Linked DNA regions of Homo sapiens: regions 1, 3 and 4 are each linked to region 2. Evidence: promoter capture Hi-C in 16 types of primary human blood cells and fetal thymus (Javierre and others, 2016). All regions are on one chromosome and are shown on one strand. The core of a region is centred on a gene start or on the middle of the fragment in contact, and the rest is flanking DNA. Distances in the headings are between cores, read along the strand shown. Region 1 overlaps SYT5 (synaptotagmin 5). Region 2 holds the start of UBE2S (ubiquitin conjugating enzyme E2 S). Region 3 overlaps PPP6R1 (protein phosphatase 6 regulatory subunit 1). Region 4 overlaps PPP6R1 (protein phosphatase 6 regulatory subunit 1).

Region 1 (5,436 bases), core at 831-3,330, 230 kb before region 2:
CTGGCTTGGCTTTGGCCGGTCTCGGGAGTCTGGGGTCAGGGGCTAGAGTCCAGGCTTGGCCGGGGGCTTGGGGTGGGAGTCAGGGCGCAGGCAGCAGCCTCACTCGGTCCGGGGGCCGCAGCGAGTGCCACTGGGCAATGGGCCGCCGCGGGTTGGCCAGCATGTCCGCCCAGTGCCGCAGGCCAGCCCCGCCGGCGGCCGCCCCCACGGCCACCCTCCCGATGGCCTCGTTCTTGCCCAGCTTGTCGTAGTCCAGCACGGTCAGCTCCACCTGCACCTTCTGGGGTGGGCGCGGGAGGAAGAGGAGAGAGGAGCGTGAGGGGAGGAGGCCCCGGAAGGGGCGGTGTCCGTTTTCACGGCTGAGGGTACCTCTCGCTGCCACCCGAGGGCTCGGGGCCCCGGAGCTCGGGACGGGGGAGGGGGTGGGAGACGAGAGGGACGGAGCCTGCGGCGAGGAGGAGGCTCTGGCGCCTTTCTTCCTGCGCAGCCAGGTTTCTAAGGAAATGAACCCTCAGGACTCGGTTGCGGAGCGGGTGTGTTCGGCGCCTCCTGGGGGAGCAGCCTCCTAAGAGCCGCAAAGCTGCAGAACTTTAACAGGGGCCGGGCTAGGGTAGGCGCCGTCCCTAAAGAAGTGAGGGGAGGTCTCTTTTTCTTAGAACCACGTTCCTGAGGAGGGCGGGGCATCCTGGTCCTGCTTAGGGTGGGGAATCTGGTCCCGCTTAGGAGTGGGGCATCCTGGTCCCGCTTGGGGGCGGGGCATCCTGGTCCTGCTTGGGGGCGGGGCATCCTGGTCCTGCTTGGGGGCGGAGCATCCTGGTTCCGCTTGGTGGGGCGGGGCATACTGATCCTGCTTAGGGTGGAGCATCTGGTACTGCTTAGGGGTGGGACATCCCGGTCCCGCTTAGAGCAGATAGGACACCCACACCCAATTTTAAGGAGTCTCTTCCTGGAGTGGAAGAGGCTTCCTGGTCCTCATAGGAGGAAACAGACTGAGAGCATAACCTCAGACCCCCTCACCTGGTTTCTAGGGAGATGCTAAAAAGTCTCCCTCCGCCTAGCAATGGCGATTACTAAAGGTCTGGGCTCTTGGAGAAGGGCAGGTTTGAGCTCACCTGGACTTGGTCACAGGGCACCTCGAAGCTGAAAGCTTCGTTGTAATAGGGGTTCAGAGTGTTCTTCTTGATGGTGGTTTTCTTCTTCCGCACCTTTTTGCCGCCCTGCAGCAGGTGGACCTTGACGTATGGATCTGGGGAGAGGAAGGAGGAGTCTTATAGCTCCCCACTGCTGGGTTGTTGGACCAACATAGAAACACTGCCTACACCCTTCGGGTCTCCCTAGCTCTATGCCAAAATCCATGCCTTCCACAGCAGCCAGGTCCTCCCTGTCCCCGAAGAAACCCTCGAGGCTCAGAAACTGTCAGAACGAGAACCCACCCCACGCCATCCCCACACACCCCACTCCCTTGCTTCCCACACACCTGACAGTCCTCCTACGTCCATCTTCTTCAGGTTTTTAGCCTCCAGGACGATGACGGTGAGCTTCCCGGCCGTGGGGACATAGCGGAGGGAGAAGCAGATGTCCCCAAGCTTCTCCTGCTGAAAGGAGAGGGGCCCATCACCAGAGCCCCGGCTCCACATCCATGCCTCCTCAGGGGTACAATCCACGCCGCCCTGAGGGTCTGGAAAGCCTATGATCTGATTGGCTCAGGATGTTGTGGGCGGGACTGGGCCTGGGGGCGTGGCTCGGGGCGCGACCGCGCATGCTCACCTCCTCCCGCGGAGCCGCCTGCAGCTCCCGCCAGGCCTGCACTGGCCGCCCCAGGTCCACGGAGCTCATAGGGACCCGCACCTCCCCGATGGCGTCATTGCGAGAGAAGCGGTCGAAGTCGTACACCGCCATGACCAGCACCCTGCCCCCCAGCTCCACGTAGGGGACCTGGAGTGCACAGAGAATCCGCAGTAGAGAGCAGGAAGTCAGAGATAGGGTGAGGCACAGCACAACCAGAAGGAAGGCATGGAGTGAGGCAGCGAGGGTCGAAGCGAACAGTTGGGGGAACTCAAATGGGAAAGTCCAGGGATCCATGCGGAAAAAAATCACGGGTCAGTGGAACCCAAATCGTACCGCCCAAGGACCAGGCTACAGCCCAGGAGTCAGTAGTGCCCAGGGTCCAGTGGAATAGCCCCAGAGCTGGTAGCTGCCACCTGAGCTGTGGCCGCCTCCAGGAAAAGCGGAAGGGGTCGGTCCCTAGTGTTCCAGGGACTGGGCACAGGCTATGGAACACGGGGCCTGAAGGCAGGAGCTCACCTTGAAGGCGAAGGTCTCCCCAAAGTGAGGGTTCAGCGTCTGCCGATGCACCTTGGTCTCGTACCGCCTCCGTTTGTCCGGCAGCAGGTAGACCCGCACATAGGGGTCCGAGGAGCCACCAAGATCCAAGGCTGCCAATCCCATTGCTTGCAGAATGCCCACCAGCAGCTGCAGGGCCCAGGCACAGTGGGGGAGGTGGGGAACACTAGTCTTAGCCTCCCTTCCATGGCTCCTTTCAGAAGGGGTTGGAACCCCCGGGATCCTCCCTCCAAAGCTTCCCCTTCCTCCACACCCACCTGGCCACTCTGGAAGTCATAATCCAGGGAGTACTGCAGTCGTCCTAGCTCATGCTTGTCTGCCACCTGCTGCCCTGGCCCGGATGGTGCTGGCTCCAGCTCCTCTACTTCTGGCTGCACCTTAAGGAGCCAGGGGTAAGGGTGGGTGAAGTCTTCCCCTGATAGCAGTATCCATCAGGCTCAGAAGCCAAGGGAGGCTCACAGGTCCCTTGGGCTATACCTGAGCTCTCACAGGCTAAGCAGATTCAGTATTTGACTAGTGCTGTCTGCCACAGGCAGGAAATAGACGTGGTAACACAGATGCAGTATGTTTGTGAAGGTTTGATTAGTGGTGTCTGCTATGGGCAGGAACTAGACATGTGCTTGTCATGCTTAGATTAAAACAAGTGCTGATAGTGTCCCATTGCCCACAGGAATAATGCAGGTTTTATTTCACATGCTAATGGATGTACTGGGGTGCTAGTCCAAACTGCCATGTTTACTTGTGATCTTAGCACAGCAAAACATGGAGGAGAAATGGCATATTTACTGTGTACTTGCCATTCTAAAGTTGAATGAAAAAGCAGAAGGTGTCTCCTTAACCTAGGCCAGCAATTCTTAAAATTCAATGTGAACCTGAATTCCCCTGAATCCTGTGGCAAAATGTCTGAGGTCACCTCTTCAGGGATTCTGACTTGATAGGTCAGGTGCTAGTGCCAGAATTTGCATTTCAACAAGTACCCAGTGTGATTCTGCTGCAGACGGTCTTTGAACATCACTGGTTTAAGGGACAGGGATGGGGCTGGACACCAGGACCCTAAATAGCATCCTTTACGGATGCTAATTGAACAGCTCCTTATTGAGAAGGAAGGAGGGGAAATACCAAGTTAGTGACCACAGACTTGAGGCTCAGAGAGGGACAGTGAGTTCTCCAAGGTCACACAACCAGGAAATGGTCCTTCTTGGTTGGAAACCTAGGGCTGTCTGGCTCCCAGGCAACCACTGCACTCTGCACTGAGAGACTTAATTTTCAGACCCTGCAGTGACCACTTTCCATTCCAACGGCCTCATCCAATGCAAATGTCTTTTATCCTCTCCAGGCTGCTGCTGCACTGGCCTCGTCCCTGGATCCCTCGCCGCAGATCTGTCCTACACAGGGTTCCAGAGGAGTCATCCTAACACCATCTGACCCTGTCCCTCTCATGCTCAAAACATATTTGTAGCCTTCATCACCTTCATGACATGGATACTGCTGAGTTCTCCAGACACTTCACTCCAGAGTGCAGCTATTGTGAGAAATGACTCTTTGTTCCCCAAATAAGCCTCAGAATCTGGATATGGGGCCTGAATCTGGATATGGGGCCTCAACACATGCTCCAACTTGGACTAGAATGTCCTTCTCTCTGGTCTCAGTTAACTCTGTCCCTCAGGTCTCAGTGCAGAAGTCACCTCCACCACGAAGCCTCCTCTGTCTGACCCTCTGTTTTAAACTTTTTCCTACTGTAAATATGTCCCATTTTCTGAAAAAAATCAGCATATTTTAAAGTATTCTGGCACAAAGCTGGTTTTCAGCTTTCAGAGCCATTTATTTATTTATCTATTTATTGGAGACAGAGTCTCGCTCTGTCACCCAGGCTGGAGTGCAGTGGCGCGATCACAGCTCACTGCAGCCTCCACCTCCCGGTTTCAGTGCCTCAGCCTCTCGAGTAGCTGGGATTATACCACACCACCATGGCTGGCTTTTGTATTTTTAGTAGAGACAGGGTTTCATCATGTTGCCCAGGCTAGTCTTGAATTCATGACCTCAGGCAATCTGTCCACCTCAGCCTCCCAAGTGCTAGGATTACAGGCGTGAGCCACCGCACCCGGCCCAGAGCCAAATATTTATATGTTTCTGTAGGTTTCTATACAGTGGGATGCCTTTTCTGTGCTCCTATGAGACCCTGTAGTATGGCACATATTACCCTGTGTGGTGAGTGTCTGTGTCAGTGCCTGACTCTCCCACCAGACTGGGAAGTTCTTGGGAATAGCAACTAGTTCTGTTCCATCTCTGGGTCCCCAGAGTCCAGTTGAGGGCTAGACACACAGGGAGGATGAGCCAGTAAGGTGGGTTCCTATAGGACAGAAGGGAGCAGGGACTGGGACCAGCTGGGCCATTGAGAGGAGCAGGGTGCGGGAAGGGGCCAGGTGGAGGGGCTGGGCTGGGCCACACCTTGTCTATGTAACTCTGGCCCAGCCCCTTCACTTCCTGAAGGTGGACCTGGGCTTGGGCCTGGCTCTTCTTGCCTGTCCGCCTCCGACAGCTCTTCCGGTAGAGACAGAAACAGCAGCTGAAGATGAGGAGGCCTGAGACCAGCACGATGGTGGCCAGGGCCCAGGGGGGCACTGCAGAGGGGTGGAGACAACACACATTGAGGCCTGGGCAGCACGCAGGCTGATTCAGTCCTGATTACACGTGGAAGCTGGAATGCTGGCCTCCTTTTCCCTCCAGCCATTTTCATTGCATTTCTTCCTGTGTTTTTCTTCCACCTAATGTGGCCTATAGAGAGATTCGATGCCCCAACCCAGGCTGACACCATCTGGATTTGCTTGCTTGTTAGTTCTGCCTTTCCTTACCCGACCCCGCCCCCCATTTCTGCTCAACTCCTGATGCTTTTACAAGAAGCCCTGCTCCTCATCGGGCCTGTTTCCTTATCTGTAAAAGAAGAGCTAGGTGGACCTTCCAATTCTAAGATCCCATTCCATGCAACACCCCTTGATCCGGTTTCGATTTTTTTTTTTTTTTTTTTTTTTTTTTTTTTGCAAATCTGTTCCTTCCTTTTACCCCATTTCGTTCGCATTCCAGTCCAGGATGACG
Region 2 (5,443 bases), core at 1,355-3,854:
TGGGCAACAAGAGCGAAACTCTGTTTCCAAAAAAAAAAAAAAAAAGCCAAGCGCGGTGCCTCACACCTGTAATCCCAGCACTTTGGGAGGCTGAGGCGGGCGGATCACAAGGTCAGGAGTTCGAGACCAGCCTGGCCAACATGGTGAAACCCCATCTCTACTAAAAATACAAAAAATTAGCTGGGCATGGTGGTGCACGTCTGTAATCCCAGCTACTTGGGAGGCTGAGGCAGGAGAACTGCTTGAACCCAGGAGGCAGAGGTTGCAGTGAGCAGAGATTGTGCTATTGCACTCCAGCCTAGGCGACAGAGCAAGACTCCGTTTAGAGAGAGAAAAAAAAAAGAGCAAGAATGGCTGGGTTCCTAGGGGGCCACAGGACCTCCCCCAAAACCTCAGAGATGATGCCCATCTTGCAGCCCCCACCTGTGTCACTATCAAGCTCGTCTGCACCCTCCTGGATCCCCCGTCTCAGCCCAACTGACCACTCCAGTCACAGGCCCTTCCCAGGTGGCAGGGACCCAAGTACGCACTTTCCTATAAGATGCCCATTTATATGCCTTTCAGATCAAGGATCCAACTGTCTGTTAATTCCACAGCCTCCCAACCCAGTGAACGCCTCTCCCACTCACCCACTTGCTTGGGTCAAAATACTGTCCCTCCCCTAGCCCATCAGCAGCCTGAGCACCGGCCTGCTAGGTCCTCCCCTGAATCTCATCCCATCTCCAAGGCTAGCTTCCTGGCTGGCCTCTGGGTTCTTCCCCCTGCCAGGCCGGCTCTCCTCACTACAGTCAATAGGAACTTTGGAGGGATTTGTCACACCCCTGCTTTAAACCTTCCACCAGCTTCCTCTACAAACTCCTTGAAGAGGCCTAGAAGCCCTAAAAGAGCTTGGCAGCTTCATCATCAACTTTCTTCATGTGTTTTTACCAAGCGCCCAGCTCCACCTGCCCAAGGGCCTTTCTGGAGCCTTCCTATTGTCATGATCCCGCGCCCTCTGCAGCAAGGCATGAAGGACCTCAACTGTCACCGCTGCCAGGTCTTTCCTGACCACCTACCACCATCACCACCGTGGACTAGACCATTCCTTCACAGGCTCTGCTCAAATCCTGACTTTGTAGGAATTCTGGTGATAACAGAAATGTAGCCTGCATGAAACAGTATTCTAAATCACTCCGCAAATCATGTGACCCGCAAATCATTCATGACCCGTCTCCCCACGATCTGCATCTGGCTTGTTTCCTCATCCCTGACACTCACAGCAGGATGGAGTTTGAGATCACCTGGCCCACCCTCCCAGGCCCTTGCTGACACCATTCCCACCACCTGGAGCTCTCTTCCCATTCCTACTTAATTCCTACCCACCCTCAGGTCCAGGGAAGCCATGTCTGAAAGCCTTGCTTCAAATCTAGAGTACCGTCCCATGATATACTAACTCAATGACCAGATATTTCTCAACCCTTGTGGGAAAAGAGTACATAATTGTCATTTGTGGCGTCCTGCCCTGTCCACCAATGCATCCCAACACCTGACACGAGGCCAGCCTGTAATGGGTACTTCCCGCTAGGGTGATCTAGAGCAGGGTGATGGAGGATCTAAGCAGCAGCCCCTTCTCTTTTTCCTTCCAAACTCACCAGGGCCCTCGATGGTGACCTGGAGGTCGGTGAGGTCCTCCTCGTTGGGAAAGACCTTGATGCCATCGGGTGGGTCTGCGGTCAGTGTCGTCACCTCCTTGTACACCAGGCGGATGATGTGCGGGGGTAGGTTCTCCACGTTGGAGTTCTGGGCACGGATGGGAGAGCAGGGTGAGCGAGTGTTAAGAGCTGGGCTTCCCGCAGGGCCTAAAGATGCTGAGACTGCCCAAGTCTTGACTCAGTGGCCCCAGGCTGTCAATCACCCTTGAACTCCCAGACCCTCACCCAGGATGCTTCAGGCCATCAGCCCAGGCAGAGTTTCCAACAGAAATGGGGGCGGGTTCACGGGGGGGCTTGCAGATAACTCCACCCACCCCAGAACCCCCCCCCCAAAGCCCGCTCCTAACCCTGCTTGGTCCCCAGTGGTTCCACGTAGGCCAGAGATCTACTCTCTCCCCCTTCTCCACTAATTTTTGGTTAGAGCATCCTTGAAACCCCGGCTCAGGTCTGGAGATGGCGGCGGGGCGTCCTTGCTCCTGGTAACACCCATGGGCGGGCCGCAAAGCGCCCGGAGCCCTCGCCGCCAGGGAGACTGCGGGCCGCCCGAGCTCCTGCTCCGCCTGCGGGAAGGCCCTCGGGCCCATCCCGGGTCAGGGACCCCCAGGCTGGCCCTCAAACCCCTCAAGGCCGCCCGTCGGAGGCCCCTGAGACTCCACCTCCTCCCTCAGGGACACCCCCGACCACCTTCATGGGCCTCATCGCCCGTGCTCACCATGGCTGCGGCCGGCCGGGGGCGGGTCCCCCCGGCCCCCTTCCTGCGTTCTTCGGTCCGCCGGCCGGGGCGGGGGGCCCAACTGCTGCCGCTGCGGCCCTGGAGAGGCCCCGGCGGCCCCGCTCCGCTCCCCGCTGCCTCCGACGTCCGCCGCGCACAGCGTAGACCAACCCGCCGCCCCGGTGCCCGGCAGCACTGAGCCGGCCGCGCGCGCACCACTGCCTCTTTATAACCGCCCGCAGGCCACGCCCTCCGCGGCCCCTCAGCTCCGAGCCTCAACCGTGACGTCAGCGCGCACGTTCCTTGGTTTTCGACGCGCTCGCTCCCTTCCCCGCAAACTATGGTCAGAAGCGAGGGAAGTGGCGGAGAGGGCTGGGTAGCGGGCCGGCCAATGGGGGCCCGCGGGGGTCGGGAGGGTTCTCAAAGAACGGAGGGGCTGAAAAGGGGAAGAAGAGAGGAAGGGGGACGGGGAAGGCGACGCGGCCGCTGATTGGACCGTTTGAATGAGACGCCGCCACGGCCCGGCATACGCGCGGGCGCGCCCTGACGCTGAGGAAGTCGCGCACGCGACTAACGGTCTTCCTGGGGGCCGGAGCGTGGCGAGGGGAGGCGGGACTCGGGGTTTTAAACGCGTGATGGAAGGCGCTCGGGCCAATAGGGATGCGCTTTAGTGACTGGTGGGTCACGAGACTCGCATGGGCCAATGACTGATAGAGACCGGTCAGAGGGCGACCCAGTTTCGTGCAGATCAAACCGCTGCCAGCCAACGAAATCCGTTGATTTTTGTATATGCAAATGAAGTGTGCGCTGCCGCCCGCGCCCCCTCCTTTGAGCCGTGGTGGAGGTGGGCGCTGGAACTCCGACTACATTTTTCTATGAGGCGCCATTTTGTGCTGGAAATGCTCTTGGACCCACGTCCTGTATTGCTAAGGCTCAAAGATCAGTCAGAATGACCTTGAAGGCTTGGACAGCCTTGCACTCCGTGTGTGACCCCCACTCCTGCCAGGCTTCATCGAAGACGCCAGCCTCAGTTTCCTTATGTGACAAATGGGCACTGGGATCCGTTGTATTGCCAGGGAAAGAAGTCAGAGAGTGCCAAGACGGTTATTCACGGCATGGTTATGCCTATGACTGACCCATGGCCTCCAGCCACACCCGCCTTCTCTGGGACTCAGTTTCCCTCTCTAGGAAATGGACACATAGCTGCCTGGAAAAGGGACCATCTCCAGCCCTCAGTGTCAGTAAAAACGTCAGGCAATTGCTTGAGAACGGTGGCCAGAGCTCCCTGAGCAGGCCTTTTGGAGGGGCTTAGAGAGGAGGAGGGAATGCTGAAGTTGGCCTTCCTTTGCTCATCTGTGCAGTGCGGTCGCAGTGCCCTCTCGGTGTCTCTGCCAGTCTGTGCGTCCACAGCTCTTCTTAGTTTCTTGGCCTTTTTCAGCCATGGATGAGAGCATTAACATCTGGGCCTAATTTGGCCACAGGTACCTGAAAAGACCCCTGGCTACCAGCTTCCCCTCATGGGGCCTCAGCTTCTGAAGAAGGAATAAGGAAGGTGTGAAAGAAATCTACATGGCCAAGGCCAGGCGTGGTAGCTCACGCCTGTAATCCCAGCACTTTGGGAGGCTGAAGCTGGCAGATCACCTGAGGTCAGGAGTTTGAGACCAGCCTGGCCAACATGGTGAAACCCCATCTGTACTAAAAATACAAAAATTAGCCAGGTGTGTTGATGCAGCCCTGTAATCCCAGCTACTCGTGAGGCTGAGATGGGAGAATCGGTTAAAGCCGGGATGTGGAGGTTGCAGTGAACTGAGATCTCGCCACTGCACCCCAGCCTGGGCAACAGAGCAAGACCCTGTCTCAAAAAACAAAAAAGCAAAAAAAAAAAAAAAACCAAAAAACAAAACCTACATGGTCGGGTACAGTGACTACGCCCATAATCCCAGCACTTTGGGAGGCCAAGGTAGGTCGATCACTTGAGCCCAGGAGTTCAAGACCAGCCTGGGCAACATAGTGAGAGACCCCCACCAATATGTACAAAACAAACAAACCCAAAACAACTGAAGAAACAGCTACAGCATAAAAAGTCATCATCATAACTAGTTTGTGGAGAAATGGCTTCAGGTGATCCCTTCCTGCTCCCTCACCCCAGGTCCAATCTATACCAGTTCCTGTTGACGTCATCTACTGAATCTCATCACGTCCCCCCATCCGCTATGCCACCAGTCCTGCTTAGAGTCAACGTCATCCCATTTTGCCGATAAGCATTTTGCTGATCTTCAATTTTAGCCTGCTGGGTGTGGAGGATTCCAACCCAATTAACAGACAAGGAAGCTGAAGGAGCAGGAGGTAAAGTGACTTGCTCGGGGTTCCCCAGCTGGGACAAGGCAAAGCTAGTGGCTAAATTCGTCTTGATCTTAAAAATCCACCCAAAAGACATAACAATAATGATGATAATACTAATGGTTATTATGTATTATTTGCTGTGTGCCAGACCCTGTTCTAGTTTCTTTACATGCTTGATGTCATTTAATCCTTGTAACAACCATAATGGGTGGATATTATTAATTATTATGATCCCCTCTGGATACCTGCATTTATTCAATACATTTGTTCTTCTTTATTAGTGTCTACACTCTAGCTGTCAGGATGCTATGGGATACAGCAGAGAATAAAAGGGACAAAGCCTCGACTTTCATGGATCTTACATCCTGGTGCGGGAGCCAGATAGCAAGTAAGTCTATACCATCATGTCAGCAAGTGATAAAGACTGAAGAACAATCAGCAAGTGATAAAGACAGGAACAATTAGTGGGAGGGGGAGGTTTGAGAGGGAGGGATGGGGCTGCCATTTTACCTTGGCTGGGCAGGGAGAATCTGTCTGAGGAAAGGTCATTTGGGCTGTTGGAAGGTCTATGGGAAAAGCATTTTGAGCAAAGGGAACAGCAGGTGTCAAGAAGATTGTGCTTGGTGCTTTTAGGGAACATTAGGAGGCCAGCGAGGCTGGATTGGAGTGAGGCAGAGCAAGTAGAGGGCTCTGAGGT
Region 3 (6,019 bases), core at 2,551-5,050, 150 kb before region 2:
CCGGCTAATTTTTCTATTTTGGTAGAGATGGGATTTCACCACGTTAGCCAGGCTGGCCTTGAACTCCTAACCTCAGGTGATCCGCCCACCTGGGCCTCTCAAAGTGTTGGGATTACAGGCATGAGCCACCATGCCCAGACTCCCAATATTCCTTCTAAGGTTGGGTGTGGTGGCTCACGCCTATAATCCCAGCACTTTGGGAGGCCCAGGCAGGCAGATCACCCGGGGTCAGGAGTTTGACACCAGTCTGGCCAACATGATGAAACCCCGTGTCTACTAAAAATACAAAAATTAGCCGGGCATGGTGGTGTGTGCCTATAGTCCCAGCTACTCGGGAGGCTGAGGCAGGAGAACTGCCTGAACCCGGGAGCGGAGGTTGCAGTGAGTCGAGATTGCGCCACTGCACTCCAGCCTGGGTGGCAGAGCAACACTCTGTCTCGGAAAAAAAAAAAAATCCTTTTAAAGCACAAACATGAGTACCCGCACCTGCTCGGTGATGTGCACTCCACCAAGCCTGCATCCAGGCTCTCGTGCCCCTGCCCAGCCAGCTCACTGACTGACCTCCATGCCCACGGTGACCCCAGTGCCCTGGGGAGGCCGTGCCCCATGCCACCTCGCCAGTGCTCCTGGGGCTGCCACTTCAGGTGTCTCCTGCACAGCCCGTGGCTGCCTGAGGCACAGTGCTGGATGGATATCCAGGAGGCCCTGCGGGTCTGGGTGGATGGGGGCATTCCAGGCAATGATGTCGATGGTATCAGCCACTGCGCTCCAGCACCTGCACTGCGCTGACTACTCTGAAAAGGACTTCACAGCCATCACCTCCACCAACTCTCACAACCACCCTCCAGGGAATGGCCTTATTTTACAGGAGAGGAAACTGAGGCACACCAAAGTAAATGCCTATGCCCCGATCCAGGGGTTGGCGGGCAGTGAAGCTGGCACTCTCAGCTTTCAGAAGTTGTATTTTCAGGGTGCAGAGCCCTTGTCCCAGCACAGGGCCTGTGTAGTGGACACTTAAGGGATGAATGAGCGAGTTCCCGCTGAGCCGGCTCCAGCACTTGCTCTGCCTGAGGGACTAGCCCTGGCCACAGTGACCCCGACTCTCACCTCAGGGAGGAGCCTGCCATTTCCAGGCCCACCCTGAAGGGACCTGTCTGGATGGTAAACTCCCTGTCCACCTTGTCCCCAGCTGCTAGTGCTTACTCAACAGACATCCCTGGATTCAGGATGGAGGGCTGTGGTCCTCAGGACCCTCCCAGCCCAGCTGTGACAGCACAGTTCGGCCAGAGGCCTGAGTTCTCCTCCAACCCAGCACCACCAGAAATCTAGGGACTTATCAGGCCTCCCACCCCGACCCAGGCACCGCTGACCTCCCCAAACATAACCATCCCACCCCTTCTGCCTGCATGACCACCACTTGACGGCAGGCCCCCCACACTCGACCGCAGGCGACCCCTGCTCGTTCCCTCTCCCCACAGCCATGCAGAGCTTGCTGAAGGGAAAATCAGAACCGCCCTCTCATCGGGTCAGCGCCTGGGACCCTCAATGACCTCCCACTCCCTACTTGCCCTGGCCAAGCTGGCCTTCTGTTTTCAGAACACACTAAGCTTGGGTCTACCCCAGCGACTTTGTCCTAATAACTCACTTTCTCATCCTCAGATCTCTTACTAAGCATTCACCTCACAGAAGGGCCTTCCCTGGCCTGCCTGGCTCAAGCAGCCCCCAGCCCCGCCTTTGTCCACCACTGTCTCCCTGTCTCCCTGAGCTGTGCGTTCTGACCTGCCGCCTGGAAGCATCTCTGTGACACAGCAATGAAGCACTGGAGGTACACACTCGTGGCCCTACAATGCTTCCTCTAGAACCTTCCCCCTAGGTTACCATGGGCACCTGAGGGCAGCACCTAGCATGGAACCTGGCCCTGGCAATAAACGCTCACAAGTATTAGCTGAAAAGCAAACCTCATTTTCACAAGGCCCCAGCTCCTCCCAGGCAGGAGGCTGCCGTACCTGTCAGGGCGTTAGACGAAGTGAAATCACTCCCACTCCGGCCCCTCCCAGCCACTCCTACGGGGTCCCTAAATCAGGAGGTGGGGGAAAGTGCAAGATCGCCCTGGGCAGGCAATGGGTGTGTATTTTCCCCTGTGTCAAGAGTGACGAAGGCACCACCACCTCACAAGGAAATACAACTGTTTCCCTTCCTTGCTCCGGGAACCTCTGTGTGCACAGTGGTAACTCCCCACCTCCCCACTTCTGCCCAGATGCTAGACCTCCTCAAGGGACCATCCCCTACTTCCCAGCCCGCTTGACAAGGAATGCGACAGGCCGACCACCAAGTGTCCATGTCACAGATGAGAAAACTCAGGCTCAGCAAAGGTGACTCACCAGCGTGCTGAGGGAAGCGGGAGGGGGAATGGATTTCCTGATCTGGGTGTACCTGGGACCAGAATAATCTCAAGGGGCAACCGCCAAATTTATCATGACTCTGCCAATTTCCGGCCTAAGGCTGTGGCGAGCAAAGCACCGAGACGTGGCAAGCACACACACACAGCCTCTTTCTCCGTGGGAGACCAAGCAGGCTGATAGGCTGCCCATGCCATGCCAGCAAAGCCAGTCCCAAGGAACCACACACTGCAGGCCTCCAACTATGTGAAGCATCCAGAACAGGCAAATCCATAGAGACAGAAAAGAGCTTACAGGCTTCCAGGAGCTGGCGGGGATTGGGCGAAGTTCCTGAAAGGAAAGGGTGATTAAAAAAAAGTTCCAAAATCAATTGTGGTGATGTTTCCACAACGTTGTGAATACACTAAGAACCACTGAATTGTACCCTTTATTTATTATTTTTTTTCTTGAGACAGAGTCTCTCTCTGTCACCCAGCCTGGAGTGCAGTGGCGCGATCTCGGCTCACCGCAACCTCCAGCTCCTGGGTTCAAGCATATCTCCTGCCTCAGCCTCCCGAGTAGTGGGGACTACAGGTGCGCACCACCATTCTTGGCTGATTTTTTTTTTTTTTTTTTTTGAGACAGAGTTTCGCTCTGTCACCCAGGCTGGAGTGCAGCGGCGCGATCTCGGCTCACTGCAATCTCCGCCTCCCGGTTTTAAGCAATTCTCCCACCTCAGCCTGAGTACCTGGGATTACAGGAGTGCGCCACCACACCCAGCTAATTTTTGTGTGTGTTTTTTTAGTAAAGACGGGGTTTCACCATATTGGCCAGGCTGGTCTCGAACTACTGACCTTGTGATCCGCCTGCCTGGGCCTCCCAAAGCACTGGGATTACAGGCATGAATCACCACGCCCGGCCTAATTTTTGCATTTTTTTAGTACAGACGGGGTTTCACCACGTTGGCCAGGCTGGTCTTGAATGCCTGACCTCAAGTGATCTGCCTGCCTCGGCCTCCCAAAGTGCTGGGCTTACAGGCGTGAGCCACTGCGCCTGGCTGTACACTCTAAATGGATGAACTGTACAGAATATCTCAATAAAAACTGTTGGGGGAAAAAAAAAAACCTGCCTCAGGCCATCGGCCATGGCAGGGACAGAGCCAGGGCCAGGCTCAGGCCTTGCACTATGTCCCAGCGTCCGCAGAGCTGATGAGATGCCGGCCAGCCTGGCAGAGCTGAAGCTGCCAAGGCTCAGCCCTGGGGCACTCACCCAGGTTACCCCTTCCCCATCCCTCACCACCAACAGCTCTAAGCTAAGTGAGCCCCTCCACAGTGGGGACGGGATAGGAGCAGCACCAAGCCAGCATCTGTAGAAAATCCATGGACCCGCACTTGCAGAGACACTTGTCTCGGCTCCACATCAAGACCAAGTAAAGAATTCTTATTATTCCGACAGAGTCTCATGTGGAAGAGGGGCCCAGAGGGGTGGAGCCACATGGCTAGCAAGAGGCTTCCAGTGTGCCCTGGTCTCTAAACAACAGGCAGAAATTCTCACACTGAGGCCCACCGTTCACTTCTAAGATACCTGATTAAAGGGCACAGGCATGGCCCTCGGCCCCCAAACCCCCTACCCCTGGTACAGACTAACCATCTGCTTCGGGGAAAAGGTCAGGCTTCCCCTCCAAACCGAGCTCCCCAGACAACTGGGGCAGGGGCAGCCAGAATGAGACGGGAGGGTGCTCGCTGGTGCACGGCATCCAAGAACTTCGGCCCTGAGAACCCAGGCAGCGCCCTGAACTCTCCATCTCAAGTGGCTCCTCTGAAAATCAGAATAGACTGAAAGGCTCAAATGCAATTGAGTGGTCGACACTCTACAGACCTCAATTATCAGGCTCTAAACAGAATGAAGATGCAAATATGGAAGAACAGAAAAAAAGAGAAAAAAACTTTCCCCCACCACAACCTCTGAATGCACTATGGCCTGAAGCCCTCTCAGTCCCCTCTCCCAACCTAATGAAGCCTGCTAGAATCCCTGCGAATGGAGCAGGAGAGTGGGTTTCACTCGCACTCTCCTGGTGAACCTGGGCAGGCGCTTGATTTCTCTGAGTCTCATTTCCTCATCCGTGAAAAGGAGACACAGCCCACCAGGGCGGGCTGCTGTGAAAAGGCATTGAGCTAAAGCAGGTGGCCGTGACACAGCAGGAGCTCAGCAGGTGCAAGTCTCTTCCGGTCCAACCCTGAGGCCACGTCCAGATGCTTTCTGGCAGGACAGGTAGGGGACCGGTCACTACCCCAAAGGTGATGGTGCTAAACACAGAGGAGCAGGAGAAAGACTCTACCCATTTGCCTAAGTGACTCAAGTACTTTTCCTCAGACCATTCGGATACTACGGCAGGCGCCATGCACCCCGCCACCCCCATTCTTTGCAACTTTTAGCAACTTCAAGAAAGCGGAAGTGACTACCACTAGTTTTTAGCTACCGTTTGAAAACCATGAGTCTGGCTGCAAACGGAAGAAGGGGAAATTGTAAATGAGAAAGGAAGCCATTAAAAACGAAAACTACCTCTGCCGCTCTCCCTCCACCAGCTCTGCACTATTGCCTCTGGTTTCTGACTTAGCTGTGGTGTTTTAGGGCCTTCAACACCAGCCACCCCTCAAGGGCCTGCCAGCCCCTTCCTTCCCCTGCTTGGACAGGCACTAACTGCGGCTCCCACAGAGCCATCCCCACTGCTGCACGTATCCGCCCAAGCACAGCTCTGCCGCCAGGGAACCGGTGGGCCCATGCTTCATCTGTCACCCCTTCCCAACCTGCGCTGACCCACGAGCACCCAGAAATGGAGGTCATGGGCACAGATGCCTCAGGGGGCCTCCAGAAACAGCTGCCTGAGCTGTCCCAATGCTCAGCAGAAGCTCCAACGCCTGGCCCCCTGGCCGGTACCCTAGGAAGGGAAAGAGCCTGCTACCAGCAGCAGGCTGGCCAGCACCCAGCTCCTTAAAGGGCCCAGAGTCCGGAGGACAGCAAGACCATCTCCCTCTAATGTCCCCCAAGCCTCTGTCAGCTCTCAGCCAAATCTGAAAGGGGGCTGGGAACACCCAATTCCAGGGATGCAGTGACAGTAATGGCAACCCCACCACCTCTGGGCAGGACCTACGGTGTGTGCCGGCTGCAGAATCCGGCATCACCCACCCAGCAAGGAGGAACCAGGGACACCAATTTGATAGAAAGGGCCACTGGGGCCAGAGGAGAAGGGGGAGCGGCCCAAGGCCCAACAAGATGATGAGCTAGGGCTTTCCTGTGGCTTGGGAAAGCCTTGGGGAGGGTCCCCACTTAAAGAGAACCCTCAGTGCCTCCCCCTCTGGCCCCAGAAGCACACCCTCCCAAGGGAGCTAGCAGCCCTGGTCCAACCCCAGAGGATGGAATAACTAGGAAACAGAAGAGTCTAGAAACACTGGCCAAGGACTGGGACGGGGACTTGAACATCCACATTCAAATCGTCTCCTGAACTGGCCACAGGTTTAAAGGAAAGAAAGGAAAAGACCAATGAACGGATTTGAAATAGCTCTTTGGAAAAACAGAAAGGGGCAGAGTTAGGGTTACAGTGTGATCCAAAGTCAGAAAAGCTTGCATTCCCATTTGACCTC
Region 4 (5,562 bases), core at 2,809-5,308, 170 kb before region 2:
GTGAGGGCCTGGGCACTGTCAGGGGAGAGAGGGGATGTGCAGAGGTCACTTCCTGCCCCACCAGCCCCACCCCCACCCCCCCGCCCTGCTGCCCTGGTGCTCACCTCTGGCTTTGGGGAAGCCCCAAGGGCTCTGGGCTCTTCTCCCCTTCTGTGGTCTGGGGGGGCTGGTGGGCCCCGGAGGCTGGGACAGAGGTAGAGGGGTCTCTGGTTGCACTGTGGGTGAGAGGCAGGTGCGGCTGTCAGCGTGGCCCCCACCGTCACCTGCTGACACCCTCACATCCCACCCGACTGAAGTCGGCTCACTGGGTGTGTGTCTGCCACCTGCCCCACGGGGAGGGGCCTCCCGAGGACGCAGCTGGCTCAGCGTGGAGGGACAGCACAGCCCTGGACAGGAAGACAAGCACCCCTCTTCCCGCCTCCTGTCCCTGTGGAGGAGGTACTCGAGGCCGGCTGAGACAGCCCCAAAGGGTCTTCTGCATGCTCTCACCCTCCCAATCCTTCACACCCTCCAACGAGCCCTTCCCAACCCTGGGGCTCAAGGGCCCCAAGCATCCCAGGCTACTAAGAGAAGAACCAGCCTACAGAGTGCAAGGGGCTGGGGCACAACATGAGGCTGCGCCTGGGGGTCCTGCAAAGGAGGCCTGGAGCAGCTCAGGGACAAGATGAACCCAGAGCCCACCTCAGCGAAGAGGAGAAAAGACTTCTCCCGATACTAGGCAGCCCCACCTCGCTGCTCACCTGTCCGAGGAGCTGGGGGCAGAACGGATCCCGTGGAAGGTGGCCTGAAGGTCCCCGATGCTAACCAAGGCCTGGCAAGGGGCTGTGGGGGATAAGAGATCTCAGCTGCAGCTCCCAGCAAGCTCGGAGCTGGCCAGGCTGCTCTCTCTGCCCAGGGCCGCGGGTGGGCAGGGCAAAGCGGGGCTCACCTGAGGGCTCCGTGACTTTGCTGCCTTCTGTGGCTTCCTGAGGTGCTGAGGGGGGTGTGGGGTCCTGAGACCTGGTAGGCGAGAGAGGCAGCCCAAGGGGGCAGCTAGGGTTAGCACTCGAGCCTATGAGAGGACGGGGACCCCATGGCCACCTCCTGGCCTCGGGATACCAGCACCATTTAGCCCGTTCCATCCGGTTCTCACCTGAGCTGCAGGGCGTCACGGGCAGGAGGGCTGGCCAGGCTCTGAGTGGGGAGGCCCTGGGGCACACTGAGGGGCCCCTGTGGGGCTGGAGGCCCAGTGTGCAGCTCTTCCTCCCCGGAGACTCGGGGGCTGGTCGGGGCATCTGTAGGCACTGGGTCAAAGGTGGCTGTCCAGCTGGGGCCTGGGATAGAGGTGGGGGAGCGGGATGGAGGGTGAACTCAGTAGCAGGCAGACAGCCCTGTGTACACCTGACCACACCGCCCATTCATTCACCTGGAGGCTGAGGGCCAGGGCTGGGGTAGGACAGAGGGGTGGCCCCTCCACGGGCTGCACAGCCAATGCCCTCCTCGTCTTCCTCCTCCTCCTCGTCCTCCTCTTCTTCGTCCTCACTGTCTGTGCTGCCTCCACTCCTGCCCCAGAAACCACCTCGTCAGCTAGCTGTGTGGGACAGACCGGCCGACACCCATCCTGTTCCCTGCAGCCCAGGGTCAGCCCAAGGAGAGCGGGCTGGGATGACAGGCAGGTCACAGAAGGGTCCAGGGAGCCTGGGGTGTGACGACACCAGGAGAGGCTGGGAGAGGGAGTTCTGAGCCAACGGCAAGAACACAGGCGGGCAGGGACAGAATGCGGCCGTAAGGAGACCGTCCGTCGCCAGTCATCCGTGGAGGGCAGGCCCTGGGGAAGTGGGCTGAGCCTCAGCCATGGCAACCAGAGCAGACAGACCCACTCACCAGCTCTCAAGCCACCTCCCAGCCGTCACCTCACACGGTCACCACAGTGACAGGCCTTCCCACCAGCAGGCCCACCCTCTGGACAGAGGCTTCACACTACTCTCTCCCTCCAACTAGAAACTCCAAGAAGGCAGAGATGGCTGAGTTTTGCCACTGCTGTATCCTCAGCCCTGAGAAACCACCAGGCACCCATAGCTGCTCCAAAAACACTGGCTGAATGTTGACTAACACACACCTGTGAGCATGAAGAAAATCCAAGCAACCTACGTGCTGATCAACCGGGGAAGGGGTAAGCAAAGTAACACTAAAACTAAGCTTTAACAACGAGGGTGCACTCTGAAAAACGCCATCATTAGGCGATTTTGCTATTGTGTGAACATTCTAGAGTGCACTTACACACACCTGGATGGTGGCGCCTCCTGTACACCTAGGCTCTGTGGTATAGCCTATTGTTCCTAGACTACCGACCTATACAGCATGTTACAGTACTGAATACTACAGGCAATTCTAACAATGGTAAATGTTTGTGTATCTAAACATAGGAAAAATACAGCAAAAATAGAGGATTATAATCTCACGGGACCACTGTCATATGTGGTCCATCGCTGACCCAAAGATGCAGTATGGGACTATATACTATGTCTAAAATGCTGACCCAATATTTTTGTCTTAACAGAGTAACTGACTACTTTAACTGGAAAGTAATATATCTGTATATAGTTAAAAGTAAACTAAAATACTCAACGACTAAGGAGTATAAAGGAAGCCCCTCAACCTAACATAAGGCATCTACAAAACCCCACAACTAACAGCATGCTTACATGGCAAAACGCTGAATGCTTCCCCCTAAGATCAGGAACAAAACAAGGATGCCTGTTCTTGCCACTTCTGTTCAACATTGTCCCGGAGGCTAGCCAGGGCAACCAGGCAAGAAAAGGAAATTAAAATCATCCAGATTTGAAAGGAAGGAAAATGAACTCTATTCACATGACATGATTCTGTACATAGAAAATCCTAAGGAGTCCACTAAAACTATCAGAACTCATACATTAGTTCAGCAAGGTTGCAGGATGAAAGATCAACATACAAAAACCTATTGTATTTTCATATACTTGTAACAATCTGAAAACAATTTCAAGAAAATTCCATTTACAATAGTAACAGAAAGAAGAAAACAGGAATAAACTTAAAAGAAATACAAAGCCTCATACTCTAAAACCTACGAAACATTGTTGAAAGAAATTTTAAGACCTATATAAAAAGACATCCATGTTCACGTATTAGAAGACGCAAGGTGGCTTCTTGGTTGAAATTGACAAGCTGATCCTAAAATTCATATGGAATCTCAAGAAATCCCAAATAGGGCAAAACAATCTTTAAAAAGAAGAACAAGGTTGGAAAACTAAAACCTCCCATTTTCTTTTTTCTGTGAGATGGAGTTTCGTTCTTGTCACCCAGACTGGAGTGCAATGAATGGTGCGATCTCAGCTCACTGCAACCTCTGCCTGCCAGGTTCAAGCGATATTCCTGCCTCAGCCTCCTGAGTAGCTGGGATTACAGGCACCCACCACAGCCGGCTAATTTTTGTATTTTTAGTAGAGATGGGGTTTCACCATGTTGGCCAGGCTGGTCTCAAACTCCTGACCTCAGGTGATCCATCCACCTTGGCCTCCCAAAGTGCTGGGATTACAGGTGTGAGCCACCGTGCCCAACAAACCTCCCATTTTCAAAACTTACTATAAAGCAACAGCAACCAGGCCAGTGTGGTACTGGATAAAAACAACACACAGACTGATAGAACAGAACAGAGAGGGAAGAAACAAACTCATACATATGGTCAAATATTTCCTTTTTACACAGGTGCCAAGATGATTCAGTGGAGAAAGGACAGTGTCTTCAACAACTGGTGCAGGGAAAACTGGTTATCTATATGTAAAGGGATGAAGGTGGACCACCTCACATCATATACAAAATTTAGCTCAAAATGAATGGAAAACCATAGAAATAATGCTATAAAACTCTTAGAAGAAAAGAGAGGGCTAAGTCAAGATGCTGGATTTGGCAGTGACACACTTGTGCACCAACAACACGTGCAAGGGTATTCACAGCGGCCGCACTCACAGCGGCTGCACTCACAGCAGCGAGCAACAGGAACCTGCCCAAAGGCCTGTCAACTGCAGAACAAGCAATTCAGCTGCAGCTCATCATGCATGGCACTGCCCCACTGCACGAGAGCCAGGGGCACCCAAACACACAACAGGGAAGGAGCTCACAAGCAGAGTGTTGAGCAACAGAGGTCAGACATAAAAGGAGATGCTGTATGCTATATCAAGTGAAAACAGAGACAAAACTCATCTACAGGGTTAGAAGCCAGGACAACTTTACCCTCAGAAGGGAGGATACTGGCTAACAGAGGGGATGTGGGTACTGGGAAGGTCCTGCTCCTGGGTCTGGGCACTGAGGAAGGATATCCATTGGCCACACACTCAGGATCTGTATGTACACTTGTCTATACGCATGTTACATGTCAATAAAAAGTGAAAACAGCCTAATTCCGAAATCAAAAGTCATGAGTCAAAAACTCAGTTGCAGATGATGACTTAGTGTTCAGGCTGTCAAATCTACATGGCATGAACCCATTTCATCACAGCGACTCTGGGGCCGGCCAGTATTAAGAGAAAAAAAAAAAACAATGTAACATTTGCACTAAAATGTCATCACAGCCTGATTGGAGAGGGACGTCATCATCTCTCATTTTACTGGAATTAGAGAAGAGAGAAGCTGCCTGGGACCATCTTACCCCCCTTTCTAGGAAAACGTGTGAGAGCTAACACGAGGAAGTGAAGTGAAGGGATGAAGGAAGGAGACAGGGAGGCGGGAAGAGAGAGACACACACAGACCAAGCCATACCTCAGGACCTGCCTATTTTTTCAGCCACAGAGATTATCCCTTTCTTTTCATAACTTAACTCATTTGAATTAGATTCCTTTTTTTTTTTTTTTCTGAGACAGAGTCTCGCTCTGTCGCCCAGGCTGGAGTACAGTGGCGCAATCTTGGCTCACTGCAAGCTCCGCCTTCCGGGTTCACGCCATTCTCCTGCCTCAGCCTCCCAAGTCGCTGGGACCACAGGTGCCCGCCACCACGCCCGGCAAATTTTTTGTATTTTTAGTAGAGACGGGGTTTCACCATGTTAGCCAGGATGGTCTTGATCTCCTGACCTCGTGATCCGCCCGCCTCAGCCTCCCAAAGTGCTGGGATTACAGGCGTGAGCCACCGTGCCCGGCTGATTTTTTTTAATTTGTTGATTCTTTTTTTTTTTTTTTTTTTTGAGACCAGGTCTCTGTCACCCAGACTGGAGTGCAGTGGTGCGATCTCAACTCACTGCAACCTCCGCCCCCCAGGGTAAAGCGATCCTTCCACCTCAGCCTCTCAAGTAGCTGGGACTACAGGCACACGTCACCACATCCAGGTAATTTTTGTAGAGACAGGGTTTCGCTATGTTGCCCAGGCTAGGTCTCAAACTCCTGAGCTCAAGCGATCCATCCACCTTGGCCTCCTCCCGAAGTACTGGGATTACAGGCTTGAGCCACTGTGCCCGGCTAATTTGTTGATTTCTTAATGCATCATCTACCTTTTTTTTTGAGACAAGTCTGGCTCTGTTGCCCAGACTGGAGTGCAGTGGTATGATCTCGGCTCACT

What was found. Contacts are between HindIII fragments. The CHiCAGO score rates a contact against its expected background, and 5 or more counts as called.
Region 1: a fragment that was not itself captured here is called in contact with the fragment with the promoter of UBE2S in region 2 in 16 of 17 cell types (erythroblasts, total CD4 T cells, naive CD4 T cells and 13 more); the score reaches 16.0 in erythroblasts.
Region 3: a contact is called between a fragment that was not itself captured here and the fragment with the promoter of UBE2S in region 2, in 17 of 17 cell types (naive CD4 T cells, non-activated CD4 T cells, fetal thymus and 14 more). The highest score is 15.2, in naive CD4 T cells.
Region 4: a fragment that was not itself captured here is called in contact with the fragment with the promoter of UBE2S in region 2 in 13 of 17 cell types (non-activated CD4 T cells, M2 macrophages, naive CD4 T cells and 10 more); the score reaches 11.1 in non-activated CD4 T cells.

The regions. Positions count from the first base shown.
Region 1 is chr19:55,173,405-55,178,840 of GRCh38, forward strand. It overlaps SYT5 (synaptotagmin 5), which reads right to left. Exons shown (of 9, transcript NM_003180.3): 3 at 4,792-4,964; 4 at 2,601-2,720; 5 at 2,305-2,472; 6 at 1,768-1,935; 7 at 1,478-1,595; 8 at 1,113-1,246; 9 at 1-280. The coding sequence ends at 80. Among named protein-coding and RNA genes, the nearest start is that of SYT5, 4.2 kb to the right of the region's middle. The HindIII fragment of the contact is 992 bases long and covers 1,585-2,576 here.
Region 2 is chr19:55,405,184-55,410,626 of GRCh38, forward strand. It overlaps UBE2S (ubiquitin conjugating enzyme E2 S), which reads right to left and starts at 2,605. Exons shown (of 4, transcript NM_014501.3): 1 at 2,404-2,605; 2 at 1,632-1,779. The coding sequence starts at 2,406. It overlaps LOC105372462 (a long non-coding RNA gene), which reads left to right and starts at 2,962. Exons shown (of 3, transcript XR_936075.3): 1 at 2,962-4,749; 2 at 5,028-5,134. RefSeq lists enhancers at 2,068-2,581, 2,938-3,232, 3,254-3,363 and silencers at 2,234-2,703, 2,714-2,773, 2,784-2,833. The HindIII fragment of the contact is 9,685 bases long and covers 1-5,443 here.
Region 3 is chr19:55,249,401-55,255,419 of GRCh38, forward strand. All of the region lies in intron 1 of PPP6R1 (protein phosphatase 6 regulatory subunit 1), which reads right to left. Among named protein-coding and RNA genes, the nearest start is that of PPP6R1, 6.6 kb to the right of the region's middle. RefSeq lists enhancers at 2,176-2,325, 4,218-4,297, 4,528-4,747, 4,758-4,867, 5,268-5,407 and 1 more. The HindIII fragment of the contact is 4,391 bases long and covers 1,606-5,996 here.
Region 4 is chr19:55,230,670-55,236,231 of GRCh38, forward strand. It overlaps PPP6R1 (protein phosphatase 6 regulatory subunit 1), which reads right to left. Exons shown (of 24, transcript NM_014931.4): 18 at 1,406-1,542; 19 at 1,133-1,313; 20 at 929-999; 21 at 741-822; 22 at 105-215; 23 at 1-15. It overlaps MIR6804 (microRNA 6804), which reads right to left and starts at 283; the gene lies at 216-283. The HindIII fragment of the contact is 3,764 bases long and covers 2,177-5,562 here.